Regions from separate parts of the Homo sapiens genome. Here regions 1, 2, 3, 4, 5 and 7 are each linked to region 6. Evidence: promoter capture Hi-C in 16 types of primary human blood cells and fetal thymus (Javierre and others, 2016). All regions are on one chromosome and are shown on one strand. The core of a region is centred on a gene start or on the middle of the fragment in contact, and the rest is flanking DNA. Distances in the headings are between cores, read along the strand shown. Region 1 overlaps LOC105374942 (a long non-coding RNA gene). Region 2 overlaps LOC105374942 (a long non-coding RNA gene). Region 3 overlaps LOC101928354 (a long non-coding RNA gene). Region 4 overlaps LOC101928354 (a long non-coding RNA gene). Region 5 overlaps LOC101928354 (a long non-coding RNA gene). Region 6 holds the start of JARID2 (jumonji and AT-rich interaction domain containing 2). Region 7 overlaps LOC124901266 (a long non-coding RNA gene).

Region 1 (4,331 bases), core at 550-3,049, 820 kb after region 6:
TTTCTCTTTGGATTTGTTTCGCCACTCCTTTGGTAATGTCCGGAGAGAGCTTCTTAACTGACACGAACGGGGCTCCATTGGTATGTCCTGGGATCCCTCGTCAGGCCTGTGCACTCCCAGACCTCCAAGGGCCGGGACCTGCATTTTTGTCCGAGGGCCGTCCCCAGGCTGCCTGAACTTACTTAGCCTATGGGCATAGTGGGCTGGAGGTGCCTGGGAACTAACAGCGCCAGAGGAAACCTTTAACTAAAGACCAAAGGCTGTCAGGGTGTAAATACTCTTCTTGCCCTTCGGCTGAGATAATTCTGAAGCATATTTTACTTAGTTTTCTAGAGTTCTTCTTGGTAATTAATGCAATCAAGCTCCAGTCTCCTGCTGTGATGACTGCCTTCATAACATACCCTTTATTATTTATCTGTCTTCCCTCCGTATCTCACTTCCTACCTGTTCCTACTTGTCTATTTCCCTGTGAGGGACTGAACTGTGAGCCCCTCAGATTCAACGTACGAAGCCCCTAAATTTATTTGTTCGAGTCTGAAGCCAAAGTACCTAAGAATGTGGCTTTATTTGGAGATACAGCTTTAAAGAGGTGATGAAATTAAAATGAGATCATGAAGGTACACTCTAATCCACTATGACTGGTGTCCTTATAAGAAGAGATTAGGACACAACACACACAGAGGGAATCCCATGGGCAGACACAGGGAGAACACAGACATCTGCAAGCCAAGGGCAGGAGCCTCAGAAGAAACCAAACCTGCTGACACCTTGATCTCAGATTTCAGCCTCCAGAAATGTGAGAAAATAAATTTCTGTTGTTTAAGCCACCTAGCCTGTGATACTTTGTTACGGCAGCCCAAGCTAATTAATTCACTCCCAATTAAACTGTTCGCCCTTGAATCCTTGGCTCAAGGTCTGCTTCTGGGGAACCCAAGCTAAGATTCAAAGTTTATTGATTTTTTTCAGTGTTTCTTCTTTTCTAAATATGCATTTGAAGCTATAAATTCCCTTCTAAGCAAGGCTAACACTCTGATATGTAGTATTTGATAGTGTAATGATAAGTATTTGTAGTATAATGGTAAGCTTTGATATGTAGTATTATTATTTAATTTGAAGTATTTTCCATTGCAATTTCTATTTAACCTGTGGCTTATTATAACTCAGAAGGGTTTCACATTGGCCTTATAGATGCTCCAGCCATGTGTGTCACTTCTGCTCACAACTCAAATGACCAGAACTAGCCACAGGGCTCCACCCAGCCACAGGGGAGCAGAAAGCACAACCTACCGTGTTGGTGTTGCATAGAACATCTTTCTACATGTTTCCTCTTGCGTAGGTGCTAGAATTGCTTTAGAATAGGCTATAAACCTGGGGGTGGAGTCACTAAGTCATCTTATTAAACCCATCTTCCATTTTATTAGAAATTGCCAAGCTGCTTTCCAAAGCGGTTGTGTGAGTACACATATTGCCCATGCACATTGTTCTGCACCTTCACAACCCTTCATATTATCAGACTTTTAAAATTTTTTGGCAATTTTGGAGGCATGAAACAGTATCCTTTTGCATTTTAATTTTCATTTCCCTGACTAATAGGCAGGTCAGGTTTGTTTGTTTGTTGTTGTTGTTGTTTGAGACGGAGTCTTGCTCTGTCACCAGGCTGGAGTGCATTGGCACGATCACAGCTCACTGCAACCTCCACCTCCTGGTTTCAAGCAATTCTCCTGCCTCAGCCTCCCAAGTAGCTGGGACTACCGGCACCTGCCACCACGCCCAGCTAATTTTTGTATTTTTAGTAGAGACGGGGTTTCACCATGTTGGCCACGATGGTCTCTTGACCTCATGATCCACCCACCTTGGCCTCCCAAAGTGCTGGGATTACAGGTGTGAGCCACCGGGCCTGGCCAGGTCAGGTCTCTTTTATACCACATGTCCTGTGATGGTCTCTACTTTATATAACTGTATTTTTAAAATAAATTTTATGAAACATTTTCCATTTTAATAAAAATTAAGTTTATATCCTATTTGATAATAATTTGTGGCTCATTTCCCAATAGATTACATCATAATTCTCTAAAACTAATCCTTGCATTTTAGCAAGACTTCAGGTCTATTTAATTAGCAAGGCTGAATTTAAGAATGAACTTGAACTTTATCAGGGGTCAGTAAACTGTTTTTTTGGTAAAAGACCAATAGAAATATTTTATTTTATATATTTTTTTGCTTTGCAGGCCACATGGTCTCTGTTGCAAGTACTCAGCTCTGTTGGTATAGCAGAAAAGCAGATATAGACAATATGGTGTGGCTGTGCTTCCATAAAACTTCACTTGTGGACTCTAAAATGTAAATTTTGTGTAATTTTAGTTTGTCACAAAATATAACTCTTCTTTTGACTTTTTCCTCAGTTATTTAAAAATGTAAAAATCATTCTTGACTCAGGCTATATAAAAAAGAGGCAACAGGCCATAGTTTGCTCTTGGGCCCTAGCTTGGCACCCCCTGAACTATATGAAAGCTTGACTCTAAAGGCAAAGAATGTGATAGAAGCTGTGTACCTGCTGTTAATGCAACTCACATTGCAATCAACACGAAAGATTAAGATCTCGGCCAGGTCTTTCAATCCTCTTTCTCTGTTTTTGTGCCTTACAAGGATTTTCTTAGATAAGTTTCATGAGCATGGTAGATCCAATGGTCTCAAAAGATTTATCCTGCATTCTGCATGCACAGGTGTTTCACACAGCAAAGCCCAGGAGCACAGGTCTTGCAGCCTCTGGATAACCAACTCGTCTCTCACCAGTGGTTCAAAAAAGCCCATGCTATCCTCATCCAAATAAACTTATGAAATGCTTTACCAAATGATTTGTTCAGAACAGTGAATACTAGACACAACTTTGTGTGGAACAAGAGGAGATCCAGTAATGACAATACATCTTTTGTTAGAAAGACTTACAAAGGCTGTGACATTCTTCTTTGAAGTGTTGTCATTGTGTTGGATGGGATGAAGTGGTTCTAGGACACACAAAAAAGGATCAAGAACATCTGAGAAGACTACAGATAAGTCCTTACTGCTGATTTTGGACACAGGTAGGTTACAGAGATGTTACACAAGCCCTCTGGCTTGTCAGTAACCCAGGGATCTGCCTCTGCAAGGCTAATACCATGGTCATTATACTTTATCTCTCTGAAATGCTCTGGAGTCTATTCCGCATATAATTGGATGTTTGTTCAGATAGAAAACCACACTTTGGCCAAATAAGTCTTTGGTTTCTTCCAGGTCAGCCATATGAAGATTCAGATGAGCAGTCTGTGCTTCCTTTGCCTTATCTCTCAAGAGCTGAGACCTTATTTCTATTCCACCTTGAACAATTTTGTTTGAGTACAACATATTTACTGATATGGTCAGCTCAAGTCATTGTGGAATGAATACTTAGATGCTGCGTTCTTCCAAAAACTGAGCAGAACCTCCCTTCTGTGAACATTTTCAATAGGTTGTTTTCAAGGTGAGAAAGTGGGAGGGAGAAGGGGATGAGCATTGAAGTAAATATTTTTTTCTTCTTCTACTTTTGCTACTGGGAATGTTCCTATCCAGGAAGGCAGGTCCCCTTTTATTTTATCAGATGCAGAGGAGTTATCGTACCTCTGTTACCAATTCTTTATCCATAATTTATGTTAGTAACAAGGGACCTGTTGCTAGCAGTTACTGATGAAAACAAAAGCTGGTGGCTTTCTGGAAGAAGGGGGCGTGTGATCTCAAGAGAGTTGCATCATGGCCATACTCCTCTAAGTTTCTAATTTTTTTTCCTTTTTTTTTTTTTTTGAGACAGAGTCTCATTCTGTTGCCCAAAGTGGAGTGCAGTGGCTCGATTTCAGCTCACTGCAACTTCCGCCTCCCGGGTTCAAGCAACTCTCCTGCCTCAGCCTCCCGAGTAACTGTGACTACAGGCCCGTGCCACTATGCCTGGCTAATTTTTGTATTTTTTGTACAGACAGGGTTTTTCTATATTGAGCACGCTGGTCTCAAACTCCTGACTTCAGGGGATCTGCCTGCCTCGGCCTCCCCAAGTGCTGGGATTACAGGCATGAGCCACCACGCCTGGCTTCTAATTGTCTTTTTAAAAGCCTTTTCCCCTTTTGTGTGTGTGAGTTATCTTCACTCTCACTGGCCACCAATAACAAAAAAAAAAAAAAAAGAAAAGAAATAAAGAAGTGGGAGATGTTTAGAACATTTCTGTGATGTCAAGGCAGATCCAGTAATTAAAGTTTTCCCTTCTTCCTATCTCGATTTGATCCCAATGCACATTTTTTTTTAGGTAAGTAACTTCAGATTTCCTAATC
Region 2 (4,260 bases), core at 487-2,986, 800 kb after region 6:
CATTTCTATCTTGCAAGTAAACTTGTCTGGTTTCATAGGCTCACAGCTAGAGAAGAATGTTGCTCCAGAATGAATCACACTGACTGTCACGCACACCTCATTTAGATGATATTTAAATGAGATTTTGAACTTAGAGTTGATACTAGAATACGTCAAGACTTTCAGGAGTGTTAGGTTTGGGTGAATGCATTTTGTATGTGAAAAGGATGATCCAGAGGGTGGTCTGTGATGGGTTGAATTATGTTCTCATGACCCAAATTTATGTTTTGAAATCCTAACCCCAGTGCCTCAAAATGTGACTCTATTTGGAAATACAGTTGTTGCAGATATAATAGTTAGTTAAGATGAGGTAATACTGGAGTAGAGTGAGCCCCTGATAGAATATGATTGGGTATCCTTATCAAAAGAAAAAATTTGGGCTGGGCATGGTGGCTCATGCTCATAATCCCAGCACTTTGGGAGGCCAAAGCAGGTAGATCACCTGAGGTCAGGAGCTCGAGAGGAGCCTAGCCAACATGGCGAAACCCCATCTCTACTAAAAATATAAAAATCAGCTGGGCGTGGTGGCGTGTGCCTGTAGTTCCAGCTACTCAGGAGGCTGAGGCAGGAGAACCACTTGAACCTGGGAGGCAGAAGTTGTGGTGAGCTGACATAGTGCCACTGCACTCCAGCATGGGCGACAATGAGTGAGACTCTGTCTCAAAAAAAAAATAAATAAAAAGAAAAAATTTAGACACAGACACACACACAGAGGAAAAACACCATGTGAAAGTTCGATTCATGCTTCCACAAGCCAAGGAACTATCAGAAACTAGGAGAGAGGCCTGGAACATTAGATCCTTCCCTGGTGCCTTCAGAGGGAGCATGGTCCTGCCAACATCTTGATCTTGGATTTCCAGCCTCCAGAACTATGAGACCATAAATTTCTGTTTTTTGAAGCCTCTCAGTTGGTGGTACTTTGTTATGACAGCTCCTATAAACTCATAGAGTGTCCCTTCCTTGTCACCTCTGCATTGCACTCCCCACTGGATCAACTCCTGGAAGCCCACCTTGTTGAAACCCTTATGTCACACAGGGGTGACAAGAAGGTCCTGCCTCTCAGCCCCATGTCATTGGCCTTTCTGGATTTTGCACCCTGCCGTTAGCACAAATATTAGCATGTTCGTCACACAGACACGTTAGGATTGCTCTAGCTCCAAGTCATAAAGCCCTCTTAAAAAAATTAAGCCAAAAAGTGTTAAGTGGCTTAAGCACATCAGCACCTGAAGTATAAGGATTTTATCCTATACGTTTCCTGCTGAAACATACATTGGTATAAAAAAAAAGTGAAAGGGGAGAAAGCAGCCTCAAAACTCAAGGGGAGAAAGCCTCAAAACTTATCTTTGTGTTCACTAAAAATGTTGGCACTATTGGGGCTAGGTTACTCTGTAAGGCTCAAGTGCATGTTCAGTTACCTAACTCTGAAACGAAGGATCCAGATTATTTCTTTCTTCAAATGGTTGCCTCTGATGAATTAGGAACACAGGATAAAATAAGAAACACCAGTTTAGGAGTTTAGGACCTGGGTTCAAATTCTGACTGGATCTCTTACCAGCTGCATGATCTTAGATAAATGACTTGTCAAGCTCTTTGAGCATCATTGTTCTTATCTACGAATGAGAGGTAAAAATCCCTATCTCAGGGAGGTGTATAGACTTTCCCTTTCTTAGGCCTCTGATTCCTGGAAGTGGGGGAGTATTTTAGCATGAAATATCCAAGTTATGCAGTGAGAAATCCATCATTATTAACATGAGGAAGGGTTGTCTTATAGATGCTCCATCCTGAAGATGGGAAAAGACTACAGGGAGCTACCCATGGTTTCCCTTTGGGACCAGCAATACCTGTCATCTCCCAGGGGAGGGGTCATGTTTTGTGTGATCTAGAGCGTAATTAACTCGGGAGGTCATTTTGAAGGAGTAGAACTCATAAATTCAAATACAAAAGGAGGTGCAGGGCTTGGAAGAGGCTTCAGTTAGTGACAGGCCCTGAAGCATGAGCTTCTTCAGCTGCAGAATAAACCTAACCACGTCCCTCTGGGATACAAGGAGACTAGACTCCGGACCTTGGGCAGAAGAGTGAGGAGGAAAAAGAGAGAAAGATTAAAATAATACTAATAAGAGGATTCTAGAACTCCCATCTGAAACTGATTCGGTGTGACTGGAGTGTGGATAAATGTCTGTATTCAGGATGTCTATAAATGACTGCTACTAGATTACATTTCTTCAAAAAAATTTTTTCTGCTGAGTAGACCTGAATGCCTGCTCAGATCTGAAAATATTCGATCTTATTTTTTCCTAATATGATGTTAAGGGTGGATTTCTTTTTAGGAAACTCCCATGTGTAGTTGGGATCTGGCTTTGGTTCACGTGTGGATCACCCCCAGTGGTCATACTGAACCTGGGCAGGCCTACCAAAAGCCTGTGATGGGGTTCAGGACACGCTACCTTAAAATATAGCAACTTGGCATTTGGGAAAAGCACAGAAGCAGGAAGTTCACTTTTACATGTATTCTCCCTTCTACCTTGAAGCAGGTCATAAGACCTCATGTGACAAGTGCCCTCCTTACTCCCAGAGAAAAGGAAGGAAGACACAGAAACACCACGAAGAATATGGACAAACAGACCTTGCTAAGTTCCCCCCCATTTATTACCATGACATCATACTCCCTTTGTCCAATCACACTTTCATCAAACCTGAGCATGAAAATACACAGGTTTCTCTGTTTGGGGGGTGGGTCTTCATTTTTGAAGTTTCCATGTCATGTAAAACTTATATTAAAGAAATGTGTATGTTTTACCCTTGTTAATTTGTCTTGTGTTAGAGGGATCTAAGCCACAAGCCTAGGATAGATGAGGAAAAGATACTTAACACCTGTTTGTCTGAAGGCTGAGGGATGGTTCTTATCAGACAGGAAGGAGCCAAGCATCGAGAAGTTGACCCTGTAACAAAGCCCTGGAGGTGGGAAAGAAGGAGGAGTTCAGAAGTGCATTCAGCACGTATTTATTGACATGTGCCTAAGTCCACAAGCACATATCAGAAGCCCTTGAGGCCAGATGTGTTTTAGAACTCAGAAATTTTCAGATTTGAGAAAGGCAATGTGCATAAACCAAATATTATATAACATCCCTAGAGGGGTTGGAGGCAACACTTTGCAAATCAAACACGGTATTTCCACAGTCCTGTCTCAGCCAAATGTATGAATATTCACACTAAGTGGGATAAATGCCACCTTACTTCACTTCATGTTTTGCCACCAAGGTGTTTATAAAAATTTTTGTGTTTTCAGAGGTTTGGGGATTTTAGAATTGTGGATAGGGCCTGGGCCAGGTGCTGCACAGTGTTCTGATGCTGGGGAAATAGCACTAACAGGACCAGAGCAGAGGCCTGAGGGAGCTGGTAGGCTCTGAACAAGGGATGGTTCCCCCGTGGGGCCCTGGTGGATGCAGGTGTAATTCCCATGGGGAGAAGGGGAGCTTTTTAAAGGGAAAGAAAACAAAACAATAGAAATGGCGTTCCATTAAAGCCCTAGAAAACATTAGTGCATAAGCTTGAATGCTTTAAAAAAATATCTCCAACAGAAAATCACACAGAGGAACAGAGGCCCCCTCCCTCCTTCCTGTCAACAATAGGCAGCTCAGTGGCTCTGGTGACTGGAGGGCCATGGGCCTCAGCTGGAAGATGTGAGTGCCCAGCAGACTGGATGGGCACAGCTGATGCCCACCTGACAGAAGCAGACCCCGATGGAGAGAGACCCACTCTGAGCGGTGGTTTGCAACTGTGTGTTGGGATATGGGGGAGACAAAGGTACCCCTGGGACAGGTGGCCAGAATATTTCCTGGTCTATAACCTGTAGGAACTGTCCACAGAATATACACATATGTGTATGCATGTGTGTTCATATATATATATTAACTATTGGGAGGAAGACTTTTCGTCTATTCAATTAGTTTGGAATGCTTGGGGGCCTGCAGATTAACTGGCAATAGACAGATTAGCAGAAGAAAAGAGAAGATTTATTTACGCATGCATTTGACGTCACTAATGAGTAACTCACTGAATACCCAGTGGTGAAGGTTTCTATACAGGTTGAATATCCCTTATTTGAAATGCTTGGGACTTAGAAGTGTTTCAGATTTTGGATTTTTTCAGATTTTGGAATGTTTGCATACGCGTAATGAGATCTTGGGAATCTCAGGCCCTATGTCTAAACACAAAATTCAT
Region 3 (4,049 bases), core at 651-3,150, 590 kb after region 6:
AGATTCATGCCAGCAAGCCATTCCAGTTCTCCTTGCCTGGCAGCAGCATCCAAGCTAGGATTCCTGGAAGAGAAGTTTGCAGCCCCAGGAAACCAAGGCATTGACCTGGGCTGTCAGTGGCAGCTTAGGCGAGCTACGGAGAAATTACAGATGGAAAGAGGAAATGCTTGTCCTTCTTCCTTTGTCAAACCATGTAAAACAAACTGGAACAAGATGCTGTTCTGTTCTGTTCTGTTCTGAAGATGTGAGTGAGAAGCACTTGTGACAGAAGACATGAATTGAGTGAGATCTTAAAAGATTGCTCACAGGGCAGCGGAAGAGGAGAAGGGAGCTGGAGTCCAATCCTCAAAAGGAAGGAGGGATGAACCTGCATCTGTGATGAGAGAGGCTTGGAATGAGGCCACCAGGCACGTGAAGGGGAAGTTACAGGACTGCCTCTGAGTCGTTTGGCCTCAGGGGATCTTGGCAGCCCAAACATCATTCTCTGTGGTGAGAGATACTAGAAGACCACAAAGCAATGGGAACAGCGGGGCCATGTCAAGTACACCTCCTCCTTTTTGATAAGGTTATTTACTTGAGACCAGAGCTTATAGAGTGTGGACCCTAGAGAGTCTGGGGAGGGTTAAGCTCTGTGTGTTGAGGAGAAGAGAATACATTTTTGTGAGTGTCGGTGCGACGGGTGGAATTGTGTTTCTCCTCAATCCATATGTTGAAGTCCTAACCTCCAGAACCTCAGAATGTGACCTTATTTGGAGATAGGCTCTTTACAAAGGCAATTAAGTTAAAGTGAGATCATGAAGCTGGTCCCTAATCCAATATAACTAGTGCCCTTATTAGAAAAAAAAAAAAAAGCAAGTTTGGACAGAGAGAAACACACATAGACAGAACACAATGCGAATATGAAGATGGCCGCCTGCAAGCCGCAAAGAGAGGCCTGGAATACATTTTTCCCTCACAGCCCTCAGAGGGAAGCCACCGTGCCTAAACCTTGATCTTGGACTTCCAGCCTTCAGAACTGTGAGACAATACATTTCTGTTGTTTAAGCCATCACATCTATTGTACTTTGTTACAGCAGCCCTGGCAATTGAAGGTAGTTGGTGCTGGCAGCCTCTTCCTTCCATCAGAGGACACAGAAGAGAAGACAAGGATCTAGAGACTCTGTAAAGCAAAGATGGGTTTCTTCTGGTGCTGTACCTGGAAACCGCAACAGTATTTATAGAAGTGACACACTGGCTCAGACCTCAGCTGATCCAGTGATTTCTCTCATCTTAGCAAGCAATGTTCATTGGCCTACAGTAATCGTGCATTTGCTGCATGATCAGTTGTCAACTGGCCAGATAACCTACTAGGCACATGATTCTGTGCCCATCTGCAGGAAAACACCAGAGAGCTGGGCTGAGATGCAGTGAGTGAGAGCTGGGCTGAAAGTGTTCCTTGAGGTTTGCCTGAGTTTCTCTGAGCCTGCTCTCCTCAGTCCAACCACAGTCACTTCTGATTGTGAGGGTTGGAAAAATCCAAAGCTTGGGCTGAAAAGGTTGCCTAAGATGTGTTCTGTCTTTACTGAGCTGAGCAGAGCCTCTTCATTGGATTTCTATCCATTTGAAGAGAGCAAACCGTTAGAAGAGCTCAAATATTGATATTTCCTCTATCTCTAAGTGATTCCTTGAAAGTATCATTTTTCTTCCTTTCCTTTCCATTTCCTCCTAAAAGCATGTAAAAAATATGAATGCTAATTCGAATACAATTATCCTTATGATGGATCAGTTTACTGGATGTGCCAAATAGATGCTTATCATCAGAATGATCTGGCATCAGCATAATCAACTATTTGTAGGAAAAACATGAGAGAGAGGAAGACAGGTGAGCCAACACACCAGTTAGAATGTACACGTACACTGAATTTGGACACGCTCCATACTCTTCTTCACTCAGGTATCCATCAGAGTGCTCACCTTGTCAGTGGCTGTTGCTGTAAGTATGTGTCTTACATCCAGCGTCTTCTCTAGGTTTCAGATGCAATGAGGTGTTTCCAGGCTCTGCTACTCAGTTAAGTCCCACAATGCTGATAGGGCTATTGGAACAGTCAATCAAAGTAAAAGAAAAGAGAAAAAGTGATGGGAATCAGAAGCAAAGAGACATGCCCAAAGGCAAAGAGCTCTGTAGAGGTGGTGGATTTGGACTTGTGGCACGTTATTCAAATATCTTCTTCCCACGGGCCCCCCAAATTATTTGTACAAAAGACCTTTCGACCCATCAAGGAGAGGTCCCTGCAAGCTTTGCTCTTCTGAAAGACAGTGCAGCATGGTGCTTCACAGCATGAGCTTTGGAGTTAAGCCAACTTCAGTTGTAATCCTGGATCCACCATTTACTAGGTTTGTAAGTTATTTTTAACATCTTGGGTCTCAGTATTCTTAAGCTTAAACCTTAACCTTAACCTTCAAATGGTCGCAAACCCATCATCAATAAAATAGAAAAAATAAATTGTGGTGTGTTTCTATAATGGAATATTCTACAACTGTAAGGATTAATAATCTATAACTATACACAATCCACAGTACAACAGCACAATACAACTACTCACAAGAATATGGATGAATCTACAAGCATAATGTTGAGTGAAGGAAGCTGGATATGAAAGGGGAAGTTGTAAAATGGCATTTATTTAAAGTTGAAAGTTTGGGGAAACGACTTTATGTGATTAGACGTTGGGATAGTGCTTGCCCCTGAGGGGTGCGGCTGGATGGAGGCATGAGAGGCCTGGAGGTAGGTATTCTGTGTCTTGTTCTGGGTGATGGTTACTCGGGCCAGTTCAGAGTGTGAAATTCATTGAGTTTCATACTTAAAATATGTGTAACTTTCTGTATGTGTGGTATACTTTAATAAGATTTTTTAAAAAGTAGATCATTTTGGTGCCCAACTCATAGAGATGTGAGGATTAAATGAAATAATGAATGTATAATAAAACACCTAGTGATAGAAAATGCTTAATATATGTTAGGCACTTCTTCTTATTATTCTCATTACCCTGATGCAGGAATTGGTGACAAATATCATTTGTTTGCCAGCGACCTGTCTCATCTGAGTAAGCCTGTGACACTCTGGGGTTTTAAAATAGGACGGTAAGAGGCCACTTCCTTGTGAGAAGCAAACCCCTTTCATCCATTGGGTCTCATTCAGAGGCATATATTCTATGGGGAAAAGAATAAGGAAAACATTCAGCTCTGAGTACTCTGATTTGAGAAAAGATAGCTCTCTAAGTATTTTCTTCAGTTTGATTAAAAACAAAACAAAAACCCATCCTGTGTCTTCCTGAATGTGCAAAAATAACTTGGCAGAAAAAAGTAGGCTAGTTTCTGCTGTTCTTAAACTGGTTTACACTTCCTCTAGTTTCCTCCGTAGATGAAAATAGCAGTTTAATCTCTTGACAGATAAACGCCTTTCAAAGTACTAGCTCCATTTGGAGCTGTTGCTCTTCATTGTTGATTTTCTATAATACAGATGTTTTTGGCATAATGTATTATATTCTCCAGAATGTCCTCTGTCAGCTCCGTAAAGAAGACAAACAGCAGCCTAATCTTGAAAACAGGGCCTCTCTATGAACTAGCTGACATAAGCTCATTTGAGCTTCACCCCGCATAAGAATTTTAATAAACAAACCTCGCTGGTCAGCATATTGCTCTAGCATATTTAAACATACCACATGCTTTCAGCTCCTCTTCACAGTTCTGCAGCTTTTGCATGAAACGAGTTCTGGTTAACAGAATTTAATGAGTCTGAGCGGGGGGAAAAGTCTCTCCACATGCAATGATAAAGCCACGGTGGGACAGCGTTAAAACAGCAGGGCTGCAGCGGGAACCAAGGTTTGAGATTCGAGTCTCAGTGCTCGGAACTGCTGTTTCTCAACTGCGTTGGCATAAAGAACCCTGAGGAATCCAGTGTGAACTGTATTCCTGACCCACGGGACCTGCTCCATGTGTGTCTCTACCTAGTTCTCCTTTTCTCCTTTCTTTTACGTTTTGTGTTGGAACCTTATCTGTTTTTCTGGCTT
Region 4 (4,072 bases), core at 951-3,450, 550 kb after region 6:
TATGTTTCACAAATGACAGCTGTAAGTCAATGAATATCATTGTGAAATATAAGAAAAGGAAAAGAAAAAAGGAAGCTTGTTTTTCAGCACTCAGCAGGAAAACACACTGTTGGACTTTATGTTTCTTTTGGAATATGGGTTTACTGTTAAAGCTAAATTAATAGTTTACATGGTAAGCCAATAAGATCAATGTCCTTTTGGAAAAACAAGGCTAATATTCTAGTCTGGGATGCACTAAGCCGGAAAAGCATGAGTTACAAGTAAGTTTAACACATTAAAAAGCATCTTGGGGAGAATTCTTGAATTTACACAACTAAGTATATATAACAGAGTCTTTACATCTAAACCCCATTTTATCAGGCCAGGCCATTTGTCAGCACATCTCTTCTTAGTTACCCCCAAGGCATCCATACTTTACAGCAAGGAGTGATGGCAACAGCTGGGGGCGGGAACTTCAAAGAAGTACCAGACCCGTAGGCCCCATGTGGTGGCTCACGCCTGTAATCCCAGCACTTTGGGAGGCCGAGGCAGGTGGATCACTTGAGGTCAGGAGTTCGAGACCAGCTTGGCCAACGTGGTGAAACCCCATCTCTACTGAAAATACAAAAATTAGCCTGGCGTGGTGGCACATGTCTATAATCCCAGCTACTTGGGAGGCTGAGGCAGGAGAATTGCTGGAACCTGGGAGGCGGAGGTTGTGGTGAGGCAAGATTGCCCCAATGCACTCCAGCTGGGGTGTCAAAGTGAGACTTTGTCTCAAAAAAAAAAAAAAATCCCATTCTGGAAAAAAATCCTCTCTGAAGCTACCATCAACACCATCTGGGTTGGTTAGTTGTTTATTTTCTCTCTGAGCTTTTTCTGATTTCCCCTGCTATTTTTTACTTCATGATGCTAACCCCTATAGACCCTATTCCCAAACGATCTTGCCAGGGGTTTTACAGCTGGGTTTGGCCAAGAGAGTCATAGGAAGGTAGGAGAATGGGAGAAGCCAAGGTATTTATCCCTCTTGTTTCCTGCTTGGGAGAGTGTATTTGTGGGTAGCTGAGTCTCATCTGTTCTAGCTGTTATGGAACAATCCCTCCTGCTGGACCAGCCCGGATGTGGGCATGGGTAACATCACCTCCTTCCTTTATTTCCTCAGTCCTAGAAGGGGTTGTGACTTTTTGACATTGTCAATCTATGGGCTGCCTTACAATCTCATTTGGGTTTTGTGTGTGTTTAAAAAATTAAAATTGACAATAAAAATCATATGTATTTATGGCATACAACATAATGTTTTAGTATTTGTATGCATTGTGGAATGGCTAAATCAAGCTAATTAACATATGCATTACCTCACACACTTATCTTTTTTTGATACCTTTGCTGCAAGAGCCCCATATTAAATTTTCTTGGTTGAGCTAGCTGATGTGGACTATGTTTTGTTGTTGTTGCTGTTTGTCATGTTCCAGCCTCCATTGTGGATCTTGTTCTTGGCCTGATGGGTTTTTCCCTAGGTCTGACCTCACATTTAACCAACCCTTTGCTCCTCATGTACATCCTTCTATTGTTTCCTGGACTCAACCTTGATGCTTGGATCCCACTTGTTCTCTCAGTGGCTTTGATGCTTCAGCTCCCTCCTGCAAACTTTTGTCTCTGTGCGTGTGTGCGAGTCCATTTTGCGTCACTATAAAGGAATACCTGAAACTGAGTAGCTTATAAATAAAAGAGGTTTAATTGGCTCATGGTTCTGCAAACTGTACTGGAAGCATTGTGCTGGCATCTGCTTGACTTCTAGTGAGGCTTCAGGAGGCTTTCAATCATGGTGGAAGGTAAAAAGGAGCAGGTGTGTCATGTGATGGGAGTGGGAGCAAGAGAGAGAGAGGGGAGGTGCCACACTCTTTTAAATAATCAATTCTCATGTGAACTCAGAGCGAGAACTCACTCATCACCAAGGGTATAGCACTAAGCCATTCATAAGCAATCCGCCCCCATGATTCAATACCTCCCACTAGGCCCTACCTCCCACATTGGAGGTCACATTTCAACTTGAGATTTGGAGGGGACAAACATCCAAACCATATCAGGGAGTAAGAAATTGTCTGACATATGAGATACTGGATTTTACAAACACAAGAGTCCTTAGATATTTGACCCAACTTCCTATTTTCATCCATGAGGTTGCTGCTGCTTAGAATGGGTAATGACTTCCTCAAGATTGCCAAGTTAATGGCAGGGAGGGAAAAGGAAAGGAAGTTTCATGTCTAGGTAAACGTCATATCACTTTATTTACTGTAACATGTGACAGGGATTGGGGACACGAAGATTGAGATATTGATTACCCTATGACCCTCCTCATTGCCTGTCCTTTGCCTTTGAGCAAACGTTTTGCACTGAGTGGACAGAAATATTAATTCATTCAACTCATATTTATTGATTGTCACAAAGGGCAAGGCTCTATGCTGAACACTTTGGAAAGGACACATATGAATAGAAAATGATCCACATCCTCAGGAAACTCTCTAGAAAGGAGTACAGCCTATAGGCCAGTGATTCATATGTATGTTGCATATGTTACATACAAAAGAGAAAACAATAAGCTCCACAGAAAGTAAGCAAATAAAGTGTTATTTGCATGTGGAGGAGAAAGTTGCTTCTGGCTTGGCAGTATTAGAGAAGACATAATAGAGCAGGTAGTATTTAAAATGGACAGGGGCTGGGAACGCTGGCTCACTTCTGTAATTCTAGCACTTTAGGAGGCTGAGGCAGGTGGATTGCCTGAGCTTAGGAGTTCGAGACCACCCTGGGCAACATGGTGAAACCCCATCTCTACAAAAATACAAAAATTAACCAGGCATGGTGGCATATGCCTGTAGTCCCAGTTACTTGGGAGGCTGAAGTGGGAGAATTGCTTGAACCCGGGAGGCAGAGGTTGCAGTGAGCCGAGAGGACAGGGCTGGGTACAGTGGCTCTGGTGTGTAATCTCAGCACTTTGGGAGGCTGAGGCAGGAGGATTACTTGGGTCCAGGAGTTCAAGACCAGCCTGGGGAACATAGTGAGACATCGACTCTACAAAAAATAAACCAAATTAGCTGGGTGTGGTGGCGTGTGCCTGTATCCCCATTTACTTGGGAGGCAGAGGTGGGATGATAGCTTGAGCTCAGGAAGTCAAGGCTGCAGTGAACCAAGATCGTGCCACTGCATTCCAGCCTGGGTGACAGAGCAAGACCCTGTCTAAATAAATAAATAAATAGATAAATAAATAAATAAGATGGACAGGAAAGCACAAATAGTATTTGACCATGTATAGCTGAGAGAAAGGTGTTCAGGATGAGTGATCGAAAGCAGGTAAGGGGACAGTGAGGGCTTCAATGGAGCTGGAAAGCTGACTACCTGAAGGTGAATGACAATAATAATAATAATAATAATAGCAATAGCAATCATAGCTGACATTTAGTGGGCTCCTATCACATACCTGAGCACTGTGCCAAGTGCTTTACATGCTTTGTTTTGGTCTATAGATGGGTATTGTTATTTCTATTTTGCAAATGAGGAAACTGAAGTTCAGAAAGATTATAACTTTCCAAAGTCATCCAGCTAGCAAATGGTAGAGCAGATTCCACACAGGTCTGCTTGATTCTAGATATACTGTTAACTGCTAAGCCAAATGGATGGGTTATCAAGAAAGGCAAGGGATTTATATATAGATCTAAAGGCATGAATAGCAAATGTAGTGTTGAGTTGTTTTTTTGTTTGTTTGTTTTTGAGATGGAGTCTCGCTCTGTTGCCCAGGCTGGAGTGCAGTGGTGTGATCTCAGCTCACTGCGACCTGCGCCTCCCAGGTTCAAGAGATTCTCATGCCTTGGCCTCCCCTAGTAGCTAGGACTACAGGCGCACACCACCATGCCCAGCTAATTTTTGTATTTTTAGTAGAGACAGGGTTTCACTATTTTGGCCAGGCTGGTCTCAGACTCCTGACCTCAAGTGATCCGTCCGCCTCAGCCTCCCAAAGTGCTGGGATTACAGGCGTGAGCCACTGCTCCCAGCCAGCACCGAGTTCTTAGAAAAGTCATTAGGAAAAATTTAAAGACTC
Region 5 (3,715 bases), core at 624-3,123, 610 kb after region 6:
TTCCTCATCTGTAAGGTAAGGTGTATTAGGATTCTCCAGAGAAACAGAACCAACAGGTTGGGGGTGGGGGGTGGGGTGGAGAGAGAGAATGAGAGAGGGAGAGAAAAAAGAAGAAGAGAAGAGAAAAGAGACGAGAAGAGAAAAGAAAAAGAAGAACTAGAGAAGGAGAAGGAGGAGAAGAAGATTTATTTTAAGAAACTGGCTCAAGCGATTGTGGAGACTAGCAAGTCCAAAACGTTCAGGGCAGGCTGGAGACCCAGGGAGGAGTTGATGGCGTTCCAGTGGGAAGGTATTCTGAAGCAGGTTCTCTCTTCCCCAGGGGACCTCAGTCATTTCTCTTAAGGCCTTCCACTGACTGGATGAGGCCCACCCACATTATTCAGGGTAACCTGCTTTGCTCAAAGACTACGGATGTAAATGTTAATCTCATCTAAAAATTACCTGCACAGCAATACCTACACTGGTGTTTGACCAAATATCTGGGTCCCATGGCCTAGCTAAGTTGGTGCATCAGATTAACCGTGGGGCTAATGAGATGTACTACATAAGGTTGCTTTGTGGGTTAAGTGAGCTGATATAGGTGAAGAATTTAGAACTGTGTCAGGTACAGATAAATTCTTGATAAGTGTTATCCATCATTCCTTCCAAAAGGAATCATTCATTCCCAGGGCAGACTCTCCCTCTGTGGCTTGGACATGTCATCCTGGCCACTGGGTCCATGCCCCTGAAGTCAGCAGGCTTTGCTTCTCTTCCATTTACTTCTTGTGGCTGCGAAGAGTCTCTGTGCCTTGAGTGTGGCAGCCTGTGTCTGGGAGGAGAGCGAGCTTTCCTGGTGCCCACATCAGTGAGGACACTAGGTGCTGCCTCTTAGTAAAGGCCCAACAGGGGAGATGCTGCAAGGAGATGTCTGGGGATGGAATTCTCCTGAGAGGATCTCTGTTGTTGCTTATACTCGCGGCAAGAAGCAAACACATCGCTCTTTCATCTTGGCAGGATGTGCTGCTGCTGCCAGCCTGTCTGCCCCGCCCCTGGATCGCCCCCACCCCCCCGACTCAGGTGGATGGCCCTTCAGCAAATGCCTTTCTTGGAAAAAAAAGGAGAACTGCACCCCTTGCCGCCCACCTCCTTTTCAGTTCAAAACTCTGCTCTATCTCCTTTGCCCAGCCACACCTTTCGTGGCCCTTCCTACCTGACAAAGGGAGATACCTTTGAGAGTCAGGCCTGCATTGCGAGCTGAGCGAATGTTCTTTTTGGAAACAAAGGAGTGTTCTTTTGGCTTTGGTTGATGAAAGCAGGTGGATTAAGAACTAGGATAAATGCAAAATATCCTGGAGGACAATGGGGAAGGAAAGCTGCGGGAAGGAGACATGGAAAGGAGGGTGGAATGGGAGATGGGAAGGGGCTGGCAGGACCAGGGAAAGGGTAAACCACGCTTTCATCTTGGAGTCTGATCTGTTTCTGAACTCTGAAGAGTAAGGCCATGAATTTTAAAAGGTGTCTCTGCAGTATCTCTGCAGCTGACAGCTCCAGTCACAGAACCAGCCCTCTCTGAAGCTCAGGAGTGCCACAGGAGGCTGAGCCCAGGGAGTCTGGAGACCAGGAGGCTGGGGGAGCCCAGCTGGCCCTTGTCAGGAAGCAGGATCACTCACAACTCCAACGCACTGGCCTGGGCAGGCTTCTGGCTGCACTTGGACGTGGCTGGGGCTGAGTATCCCCTGGCAGCTCCTGGAGGTGTCCACAGGGATGGTATCAGCAGATAACTTTCTGAGCAGGTCTCAAGGCACTGCTGGATGTGCTTGTCAATGACAAAGTCACGCAGACACCTGCTGCAGTCCCTGTTCACCTGTGCTGACTGCTGAGAGGACAGCAGGCCTCCCGGGGACTGGCTGTTTTCTCAACAGGGTTTTGAGAAAGGTCCTCTTCTAGAAAGGGCTGGGGGACCCTGCTTTGAGAGCTGCTCCCAGAGGGGGAAGCCAGGTAGTTCCAAAGGTCCTGGAGGAGGCTCAGAGTCTGCAAGTCACCCAGTAGAGGGAGGGATGTGAAGGTGGCCTGCTGAGTGCTCTGGGCTGGAAAAGTGGCAGTGAGTATTGTCCTTGGAGCCCTGGGAGAAGTGTCAGTGCATCTTACTTTATGAGAAATGCATGCTCTTGAGAAATGGAATGTGGACATTTAAAAAATATGTATTGTTATATCTTTATCAATATGTCTGATTTTTTTTCGAAACCCTGGAGTATCGCAATCATGACTTCTCTGTTTGTGAATTGAGCATCAGGAATATTGAGTTTTCTAAAAGCAGGGATATTGGTAATGGAAGCAAATGGACACTTCTGGAGCTGTCAGGTAGCCCAGAGCAGGACCCCAACAGCCACCAATGACACAGCTCCTTAGCTCGCTGGCTGAGCCAGGAAAACAGAGGTAGTAGCCCTGGGCAGAGGGACGCCACACACAGCCAATCCTGTGGAGACACTGGGAGGCATCTGGAAGCCCCACAAGAACCTACCCCTCCTCAGCTCTGTGTCCTGCCTAGTTACATCCTCAGAATTGTGAGGTACCCCTCCAGCAGCTGGAGGCCTGTGGAGGGGACTCGCCGTGTCTCAGCTTTGGGACTCCTGAGCCCCCGTTACAAAGGAGACTCTTTTTAGAGGGTGTGTGGGGCAAAATACCTTCTTCCTCATTTATTAAAAATTGTTCATTGGAGTAAAATATACATAACATAAAATTTACCATTCTAACCATTTAAAATGTACATTTCAGTGACATTGAGCGCATTCATAACCTTGTGCAACCATCACCACCATCCAGCTCTGGGTATTTTTTCATCATCCCTAACTGAAACTCCATACCTATGAAACACCAACTCCTCATTCTCTTCTTCCCCCAGCCCCTGGAAACCACCATTCCACGTTCTGTCTCTAGAAATATATGACCACTCTAGGTATCTCACATAAGTGCAGTCACACAGTATTTGTCCTTCTGTGTCTGGCTTATTTCACCTAGCGTGATGTCTTTAAGGTATATCTATGTTGCAGCATATATCAGATGTTATTTATTTATCTTTTTATTATGGTAAAAATATCATAAGATGTATCATTTTAAGCATTCATAAGCATTCATAAAGGCACAGTTCAGTAGCATTAAATCCATTCACAATGCTGGGTAACCATCACCGCTGTCTGTCTGTCTATCTATCTATCTATCTATCTATCTATCTATCTATCTATCTATAACTTTTTCATCATCCCCAATAGAAACTCTGTACCCATTAAACAACAAGTCCCTATTCCCGTCACCTCTCAGTCTCTGGTAACCTCTATTCTGTTCTATCTCTGTATGAATTGGTCTATTGCTATGGACCTCATATAAGTGGAATCATCCATTATCTCCCACCTTTTGAGCACAGATTAGATTAGAACACAGATTTTCAAAGTCTTCTCAAAGAGACAGAAGGCCAGCACCTAGTGGAACTTAAGGGTTGCACATGGCTATGTTGGGGGTTTTCCAGCCTGCATCAGGAAAACAGAACAGGGAGCATCCCAAAGCAGCCTGGACAGGACCCCCTGGGCTTCAGAGGGAAGGTGCTCTGAGAGGGATAGCCTGGCAGGTACATCCAGCCACCGAGGGAGGCCCTGAGAGACTCACATCACAGTGCTCCCCGCGTTTGGATTCCAGCCTCAGTGAGCACCCTTCCGAAAATCTGCCTGTGCAGAGAAAGCAT
Region 6 (4,312 bases), core at 1,591-4,090:
CTCTTCCTCCTCCCACGCCGCAGCCCGGCTCTGCGGCAGCCCCCGCCCCCGCCCAGCTCCCTCCTCCCCCCGCCGCCCCGCCGCGCCTGGAGCCTCCCGCCCGACTTTTGACGTCACGGAGGAGGAGGGGAAGGTTCCACCCGAGCCCGTCCCTTTGTGACGTCACAATGACAACAGAGTGCGGCCGGGAGCGTCGGGGAACCGAGCGCCGCGGGGGGCGGAGGGAGGGAAGAAGGGCTGGGGCGCCGGCGCGCGGCGGGGGAAGAACCGGGGGGCGGAGAGGGGGCGCGCTGACGTCTCGCCGGCTTAACCTGTTGCTCTCGAGACTGCGTCGGAGCCCGCAGGCAGGGCCGCGGGAAGCCGGCCGGGCCGCCGCCGCCATGCTCGGCCGTGTGCGCGGTGGGGGGCGCCCGCTGCAGCTGTGCGCCGCGCGCCCCCTCCCCGGCACGCCCACGCCCCCGCCCCCGCTCCCACCCCCTCCCCGCGCGCTCTCCCCTCCCCGCGCCCCGCAGGCCGCGCCACCCCCGCGCCCCACCCGCCCTCCTGCCCGCCTGCAAGCCGGCCCGGGTAGACCGGTGCCCGCCTCGCGCGCCCGCCTAGAGCCCGGAGTATGCCCCCTATAGGCCGCGCGCGCGCGCCCGCCCGCCCAGCCCCGGCCCAGCCTGCCGCGACCCCCGCGGGCCGTCCCTTTCGCAGCCGGCTCGAGGACGTCGGGAACACCGGCTCTGCTCCCGGTGCATTAACTCGTGCCGTGCCTCCCGCAGCCGCCGCCAGCCACGGGCTTGCAGCCGGACGCCCGGACTCGGAGACACGATCCGCTGAACGCCCGCAATAAGAAAGAAAACCCACCCCACGCTGCTCTCCACCTCAACGAGGTCCGGAATGGGAGGCGGGGTGCGGTTCTCGTCCAAGTTCTACCCCATTTGCTTTGTGGCTGCATCCGAAACGGACGTGCCCCGGGAAGGCGTCCACGCTCCAAGACAAGGTTGCCTCAGTGCAGTTTCTACAGCCCGAGTTTAAACTAGTCCTTTGCATTCTACCCAGCCCTCTGCAATGCGGATGTATTTTAATTCTTAAATTCTTTATGGAACAGCTTTCTAAGTTGGGCTTGATTATTTAACCTTGCATTTCTTTCATAGTTGAAGTTGACGTGTCTAGATAAGGATCAGCTCTCTTGAAGAGGCATTCAGCTTTTCCATTAAATATATTTTTTTACAAAACCAGTGCCCCGAAGGTCATCTCTCATTACACACACCACAATGATCAAAAAGGGAAAATATTAACACCAATTTGTCTACCCAACTTAAATAAACTTTCCTCTTACGTTGCATTATTCCTAAGGTATGTTCATTTGGCCTTTTTTGAAAAAAAAAAAGAGTTATTTAATTTAAAGCATGCAGCTAATCACAGATCACTCGAGTGCATATTTGGTTAATCCCTCGGTCCCCCTTTCCTCCCTCCCCTCAAACTTAAAAAAAAAAAAAAGCCACCACACACAAAACAAAAACACTCCCCATGCCAATCAAAACGTAGCTGTACTATGCACAAAACAAATTTAACTATTCCAAGCCATTTAAATCTAGGAATAATCACCCAATTTCAGAAGCCCAGTTAACAGGGAGAAATTATTTGTAGTTACTTACATATGCATTCACGTACACACTTAAAAACATTAGCCATAGTGTGTGTCCTTTTCCCCTACAACTGGAAACCATGAATTTTTTAAACAAAACCAGCCTCATTATTAAAGTCAATCCCAACAAATGCATTCGCTGTAACATGATTCCCAACTGGTTTATGTTGCAAACCAGATAAGCCAAAACGACCACAGACATTAAATTTGATGTGCCAGTGCAAAGAGAAGATCGCCATAATCGGACCCTCGATCGCAACTTAAAGGGCTTCCAACACACATGCGTTACACGATTTTTCCAAATAACATTAATAATAATAACACAGGCTCATTTGCATGCAAAGTGCAATACGGGGCCAAATCCGCTTGAGAATGCAGTTTAGTTACATTACCGCAGCCACCCCCCACCTCAAGCTCCACCAAAATCCCTTGCCTTTCATCTAAAAGTAGATTATGGTTGTGTCATTCGAGGTCAATTTATTCACTTGAGGTATCTCTACACCAGTCTGTTTTTTCAACCAAACTAGGCAGACACCACTTTGCTTGAAAAGCCCTCTTTCAGAAAAAAAAGAAACAGCCTTATCGGACGCTGTGTTTAAAACCCTTCAGAGGCAGAATTATCTATAAACTTGACATTCACAGCCATTGCTTAAAACTGCAAGTCAAAGGATGTGTTGTTAGGAGCACTTACGTATTTCTTCTGAATGATATTCCTCTTGGGTCTTTCCTTGCTCATTCTGAGATCCAAATGCTGATTGCAAAAGGGGACAATTGCTTCATGAATTTAAAGCCGTCAGAAATTTGCAAAAAAATATCCTGGTGGTTTTTATTGTTGTTGGTGGTGGTTGATCTTGTAATCCGACTTTTCTTCCTCTTCCCCCAAAGCCAGATTCGCCTTGAAATAAATCCGAAATTGGGAAGGAAAAAAAAAGAGCCAAAGACGAACGAAGCAAACAAAAAAAAATTCACTTTAGTAAAACACTCATAATGGAAAATTTCCCCCGAAACACATACACACACACACAAAAAAAAACCGACGCCCTTCACTCCCCCCCCTTTTTCCTCCAAAAACTACATCAGCGAAACGTGAAGGTCCTTAGTGTCTGATCCGTAGTTACATCTTGGAAAAGAAAAGGGAAAGATAAATAAAAAATGTTGGAAGTCACGTTTGTGCTGCAGCAGCAGTGCGAGCAGAAGAGTCAACTCCAGCGGCGGCGGCGGCGGCGGCGGCAGCACCACAGCGAGGGCTCGCCGAGTCTCTTTTTTCCAAGCCCCCTAACCAATGAGAGAGAGGCTATCCAGCCCAACTTTAAATGGACTCTGCTTTTATACAAGTTAGGGCTCCTCGGATAATTCCCCGCCGGGCGCCAGCCGAAAACTCCCACCGCTCAGCCGCCAGGCGCCCGCTTAGCCTGGTGCCGACCGCCCCTGGCCCAGTCCAGGGCACCCCCGCAGCCTGGCCAACCAGACACCCGAGCGACCTCGACGAACCCCTCCCAGGCAAGCCCTCGGGCGTCGCTCCCACGCCGAGCCCAGGCGTGGAATTGAGAGAGGCTCCCTAGCTCAATGCATGGCACGCTCCGTCGCTCCACCTCACCCCCTTTCCCCTGCCTGCCGCTCACCCCACGGCCGCCCCACGCCAGCCCCCGCCACTGCCTTCGCGTCTACCTGCAGCCGGGCTGCTGGGTAGGAGTGCCCCAGGACGCCCGGCCCCGGGGAGAGCCGCCTATTCCCGGGGCACCTTAGAATGGTCCCCTTGATCTTCTGGAAGTTGTAGTCCCCCGACTACAAAATGGCTATGGCCACGGAAGCTGGGAACTACAATTCCCAGCCTGCCCCGCAAAGCCTGTCACTCAACTCCCCTCCCTCCTCCTCGCCCCCTCCCCCTCACTGGCCGTGCCAACAAACGCTTGGACGTGTCCCGCGTGCGACACTGCTAGAGGCTGGCTCGGGATTGGCCCGCGGAGCGTGTGGTCCGCGAGCGAGGAACTCCCCACGCCGGCCCTCCTCCGCCCCCCGGGCCCCGGCCCCCCTCCCCTGGCGGCCGCCAGCCCCCTCCCCGCGCGCCCCGCCCCCACCCGCGGCGCGAACCGCCTGTGGAATCGAGGAATCGCGCGCGTGCGGCCCGGAGCCGCGGGGGAGGGACGCGAGGCTTCCCCGGGGAAGGCCTCGGAGCGTGGCGGTGAGGGGGGCGGTGTCAGGGAGGGGTTGGAGCCCGTCCTAAGGAAAACTGGGCCACGCACCAAGAGGAATCCTCGGTGCGAACTAGTTGATCGGCGGCGCCTGCTGCTTGTGCCGTGCAGCCGGTGTCACCTCAGGACAGCGCCTCGCGTCTGTGTACAGAGCGTGCTGCGGGCGCCTAGGGTAGTCCGAGGTCACCCCTCTCCGCGCCCCGCAGTCGCGCACGCCCCCACGCGCGGGGTGGGCGGTGGCCGGGGGTCGCCGAGTGGAAAGGCCACGCCCCCCCACGCCCGGGCTCGGCACGCTGCCCCTGGGTCGCGAACGCGCCTCCGCTCGACCCGCTTGGAGGACGTCGCTGGTGGCCCAGGAGTGAAGCCCCGGCGGCTGCCTCCTGAGAAAAGATAGCCGTGTTTAAAGAGACTGAACGGGATCTTTGCTTTGCCGGGCGTATTTTGTGATAAAATACCACAAAATGTTGAGACAAAAATGAGTGGAATA
Region 7 (3,982 bases), core at 1,356-3,855, 960 kb after region 6:
AGCCACAGGAGAGGACCCAGGAGCCAAAAGAAGCCAGGAAGCCCCATCTCCTCTCTCTGCCATCGGCAGCAGCACTGCTACCCAGGCAAATCCTTTTTCTCCTGTTCCCCAAGTGAGGGCTCCTGACAGAAAGCCAGAGCTGAAGTTTAAAACAATGGCATGGAATGGAATCCTACACCTCTAATTGGACAAAACCAGAGGAAAGTATCAGAACGGGGCAAGAGGACATCCACAGAGCAAGGAGGCACAGAGGTTGGCTTCATAGCTGAGCACCCTTGAGTTGTCTCCTAACTTTTCTGTCTTGTATCACAGTTCCCTACCCTCAACCCATAGGGGAGTCATGAGGATCAAGGAAATAATCCATGCAAAAAGCATTTCCAAAGTTCCTGCCTTAATTTTTTAATCTATAAAATGGGTGGAGCAACAGCATCTACCTCATAGGGTTATTGCAAAGGTTAAATATACATAAAGCATTTAGAATAGGGGCAGAGTTAAGAGTAAGCATTTATGGCCGGATGCGGTTGCTCACGCCTGTAATCCCAACACTTTGGGAGGCCACGGTGGGTGGATCATGAGGTCAGGAGTTCGAGACCACCCTGGCCAACATGGTGAAACCCCATCTCTACAAAAGATACAAAAAAGTTAGCCTGGCGTGGTGGTGGGTGCCTGTAATTCCAGCTACTCAGGAGGCTGAGGCAGGAGAATCGCTTGAACCCAGGAGGCGGAGGTTGCAGTGAGCTGAGATCAGGCCATTGCACTCTAGCCTGGACGACAGAGAGACTCCGTCTCAAAAAAAAAAAAAAATAGCATTTATATAGGATTTGTATAAGCATTCATTATTGTAACAATCGGGTCTGGGCAGGGCATACATAGTGCAGATAAGAGTTTAACTGAAGAGTTATTTAATGTTGATACTATTTACACAGGTGGTAGCAGGTTTCAGGAATCAATGAAGCATGGTGAAAGGACCAAGAACTAGCCTGAGGCTGGAGCTGTGCAAGAGGCAAGGTGGGGATTGGAGGAATGAACACACCAACCTTTCTCTCCTCCCACCTTCTGATCTCCTCTGTATGTCTCCATTGCCAAATCAGCCAGAAGCAGAGGGCAAGTGAGCCCACATGAAGCAGTCCATGGGTTCAGTTTTGGGGGGGCATAGAGCTTGGATCTGATGGAGGAGAAAAACCAAGATAACTAGCACAGCTATTCTTAGCAGTGAAGTTGGCATTAGTATTAATATTAGTATTAACCATTGCAAATTAATATTATTGCTATTACCATTGTGTATCTCTAGTAACAGGACCTGTTTCTTTTATTATAGATCTGAGTTTTCGGCTTTGTGTATATTTTATTTAACGGGGCCTGACTTTCTGTTTGAAAGATTTGTTGATGTGGCTCTTTTCATTTGAGCAGCTGTTGTTGCCAATGAATTAAAGAGTAACCAGGGCTCAAAGTGATTTGAGTCTGGTCCTGATTTGGAATCCACTGTGTGGAGCCCATCCATCCTCAGGAACCTCAGTTTCCTTTATTATAAAAAGGAAAAAAAGTTATAGCTCTTACAGCAGAGTTGTAAGAAAGACTACCCTGCCAGAACTGTTCAAATATGAGGAATTGGCAAATATAAAATTCTAAAATATTTCTTAATAATATGCACAAGTTCTGACTTAACAAGCATGGCATATTGTGACTACCCTGTTAAAAAAATCCGCTGATCATTTTTCACAACTTATTTATTCTTGGTGCCTATTTCCTTTCCAAGGAAGGAAAAGGGATAAAAGAACTTTAACATCTTTTTTCGTTACCAAGTGCTTTTTACATTATTCCTGAAATTCACTTCTACACGCAGAATATATTTAGGAGTCTGCCTTCTGATTTAAAATATATATTTATATGTATCTAAATCATTTCCTATAGACTTTTTAAGCATTTTGTTCATCTAAATGTGTATGTTTCTGCTCTAATTGAAATTCCTAAATAGTCACTTTCTGAACTGTCAAAATTGTAAAGCTGTTGATGGGTGCAGCTCTGGGGTTTCCATGGTAACTACTTTCATTGCCTAGGAGATGCTGGTCTGCTGATACTATCACTGAACTGGCTCAAATCTTGAAAACTTGGCGGTGCCCAAAAATGTGGAAGCATGTCCTGAAAGTTTAACGGGCTTTTATTTTTAATGGCTGGCACCAAGCGTGGCCTCATCAGGGCTTGGGAAGAGGCAGCTCTGTTTCGAGGTTCTTCATTGTGTAGAGGATGGGAGCTTTGACAAGCATGCTAATACTACCAGATCCTCTTTGGATGGTAAGCTTTTATGTGAATAGCTCCTAAATAACATTACCATCACTCACTACTACTGGTATGGAAATTGAGTTAGGATAACAGAGCCTGAGTTCCCCCATGAGATAACAAGATGCTTCTGAATATAAGTCAAAATTGGAGTATAGATTGTCTCACAACTCTACTGTTTTTTGTTTCTTTTCGTCTTTCTTTCTGTTTTCTCTTTTTGTCCCTCTCTTTCTCTCTTGTCTGAAGAGTCTGGGACGCTGAAGGCTATAAACATCATGGTTTGTTACACACTTTCGATGTCTGCTCAAATGTGGTGTACCATTTCTAAACCACCTCCTGTTAAACCGTTTGTGGGAAAGTTACATTTAAAATAAATCATTTCATGATCAGCAGTTTTATTGGTGCGTGGTCAAAAATTACCCAGGGAGAGAGAAATCATTTAGTTCACCCTTTTTTTTCCTATCCTAGGAACTCGAGTTTTTTCTAATTACATCCGGAGGATCATTTAAACAGGGTGGTCCATTTTAAAGCAGTCACATTTAAATCTACTTTGCATTAAATGAGCTTGCTTTTAGATGAGTTTGGCTGGCTCAAGAATACATCACAAAATGCAAATCTGATGATAAATAAAGCTTTGGCTACATCGTAGAAATGGGGAGCATTTCAAAAAATGATGTTAGCACTGACTGCTAAGTGAAATGGCATTCCCTGAACACTCCTCATATTTTAAACATTTAAATGTATGCTACTAAATCAAATATGTCCATTTAATATGTGGCAATTTGTAAGCCACACAAAATAAGAAGATGAGGTGCTAGTTTTTCCTCACAAGTTAACACTGGTGAAAATACAAGGGTGGAATAGGGCTGTGAGAAGTCAAAAATAGGAGGAAATGGCTCTGCATACTTATTTGAGGAGTGTTTTGAAGTCGCTAGCAAGCAGAATGTGAACTGCTGTGTGCCAATTATACCACATCTCCTTGGGACCTGAAGCTGTTGAGTTGATGCCTTCTTAGGCTTGGCTCCTAGAAGAAGATAGAAGTCACGAAGGGGTAAAATATTAGCTACGACTAAAAATGCTTTAATGAACGGTTGAAACAAACATCTCAGACTTTATACATGCATAAAACAAAAGATTCGTCCCTTTAAAGGATTAGCCTTCTTACTACTTTAAAGTATTACGCTTGTTAGCCAAAGCGATTATTACAATGATCCCGCTGCCATTGTTCAGATTTTTGAATGCCAGTTTCCACTTTTTAAAAAATTGCTTTCAAAAACTGCGACATGTCTGGGGCATTTTTTTTTTGTATTATACTTTAAGTTCTAGGGTACATGTGCACAATGTGCAGGTTTGTTACATAGGTATACATGTGCCATGTTGGTTTGCTGTACCCATTAACTGGTCATTTACATTAGGTGTTTCTCCTAATGCTATTTCTCCCCCGACCCCCACCCCATGACAGGCCCTGGGGTGTGATCTTCCCCGCCCTATGTCCATGTGTTCTTATTGTTCAATTCCCACCTATGAGTGAGAACATGCGGTGTTTGGTTTTCTGTCCTTGTGATAGTTTACTGAGAATGATGGTTTCCAGCTTCATCCATGTCCCTGCAAAGGACATGAGCTCATCCTTTTTTATGGCTGCATAGTATTTCATGGTGTGTATGGTCTGTGGCACATATTTCTAATTATTTACCAAAACTTATTC

Evidence for each region. Contacts are between HindIII fragments. The CHiCAGO score rates a contact against its expected background, and 5 or more counts as called.
Region 1: a fragment that was not itself captured here is called in contact with the fragment with the promoter of JARID2 in region 6 in 1 of 17 cell types (naive B cells); the score reaches 5.2 in naive B cells.
Region 2: a contact is called between a fragment that was not itself captured here and the fragment with the promoter of JARID2 in region 6, in 1 of 17 cell types (fetal thymus). The highest score is 7.7, in fetal thymus.
Region 3: a contact is called between a fragment that was not itself captured here and the fragment with the promoter of JARID2 in region 6, in 1 of 17 cell types (fetal thymus). The highest score is 5.9, in fetal thymus.
Region 4: a fragment that was not itself captured here is called in contact with the fragment with the promoter of JARID2 in region 6 in 2 of 17 cell types (M2 macrophages and neutrophils); the score reaches 6.8 in M2 macrophages.
Region 5: a contact is called between a fragment that was not itself captured here and the fragment with the promoter of JARID2 in region 6, in 1 of 17 cell types (fetal thymus). The highest score is 6.4, in fetal thymus.
Region 7: a contact is called between a fragment that was not itself captured here and the fragment with the promoter of JARID2 in region 6, in 2 of 17 cell types (naive CD4 T cells and total B cells). The highest score is 5.5, in naive CD4 T cells.

Annotation. Positions count from the first base shown.
Region 1 is chr6:14,425,407-14,429,737 of GRCh38, reverse strand. It overlaps LOC105374942 (a long non-coding RNA gene), which reads left to right. Exons shown (of 6, transcript XR_926510.3): 5 at 2,724-3,080; 6 at 3,271-4,331. Among named protein-coding and RNA genes, the nearest start is that of LINC01108, 140 kb to the right of the region's middle. The HindIII fragment of the contact is 1,428 bases long and covers 1,086-2,513 here.
Region 2 is chr6:14,443,224-14,447,483 of GRCh38, reverse strand. All of the region lies in intron 2 of LOC105374942 (a long non-coding RNA gene), which reads left to right. The region is part of intron 1 of LOC101928331 (a long non-coding RNA gene); the gene reads right to left. Among named protein-coding and RNA genes, the nearest start is that of LINC01108, 160 kb to the right of the region's middle. The HindIII fragment of the contact is 3,705 bases long and covers 1-3,588 here.
Region 3 is chr6:14,655,498-14,659,546 of GRCh38, reverse strand. The region is part of intron 1 of LOC101928354 (a long non-coding RNA gene); the gene reads left to right. It overlaps LOC102724463 (a long non-coding RNA gene), which reads right to left and starts at 396. Exons shown (of 3, transcript XR_926514.4): 1 at 1-396. The HindIII fragment of the contact is 754 bases long and covers 1,524-2,277 here.
Region 4 is chr6:14,698,104-14,702,175 of GRCh38, reverse strand. All of the region lies in intron 1 of LOC101928354 (a long non-coding RNA gene), which reads left to right. Among named protein-coding and RNA genes, the nearest start is that of LINC01108, 410 kb to the right of the region's middle. The HindIII fragment of the contact is 4,245 bases long and covers 78-4,072 here.
Region 5 is chr6:14,631,557-14,635,271 of GRCh38, reverse strand. The region is part of intron 2 of LOC101928354 (a long non-coding RNA gene); the gene reads left to right. Among named protein-coding and RNA genes, the nearest start is that of LINC01108, 350 kb to the right of the region's middle. The HindIII fragment of the contact is 5,778 bases long and covers 1-3,715 here.
Region 6 is chr6:15,244,597-15,248,908 of GRCh38, reverse strand. It overlaps JARID2 (jumonji and AT-rich interaction domain containing 2), which reads right to left and starts at 2,840. Exons shown (of 18, transcript NM_004973.4): 1 at 2,325-2,840. The coding sequence starts at 2,369. It overlaps JARID2-DT (JARID2 divergent transcript), which reads left to right and starts at 3,535. Exons shown (of 1, transcript NR_187237.1): 1 at 3,535-4,312. It overlaps JARID2-AS1 (JARID2 antisense RNA 1), which reads left to right and starts at 213. Exons shown (of 2, transcript NR_120502.1): 1 at 213-399; 2 at 765-1,094. RefSeq lists silencers at 1-467, 588-647, 3,633-3,892, 3,903-4,212 and enhancers at 2,763-2,862, 2,973-3,022, 4,212-4,312. The HindIII fragment of the contact is 5,356 bases long and covers 1-4,312 here.
Region 7 is chr6:14,289,270-14,293,251 of GRCh38, reverse strand. LOC124901266 (a long non-coding RNA gene) reads right to left here. Exons shown (of 2, transcript XR_007059465.1): 1 at 3,184-3,982; 2 at 886-1,165. Among named protein-coding and RNA genes, the nearest start is that of LINC01108, 5.8 kb to the right of the region's middle. The HindIII fragment of the contact is 612 bases long and covers 2,300-2,911 here.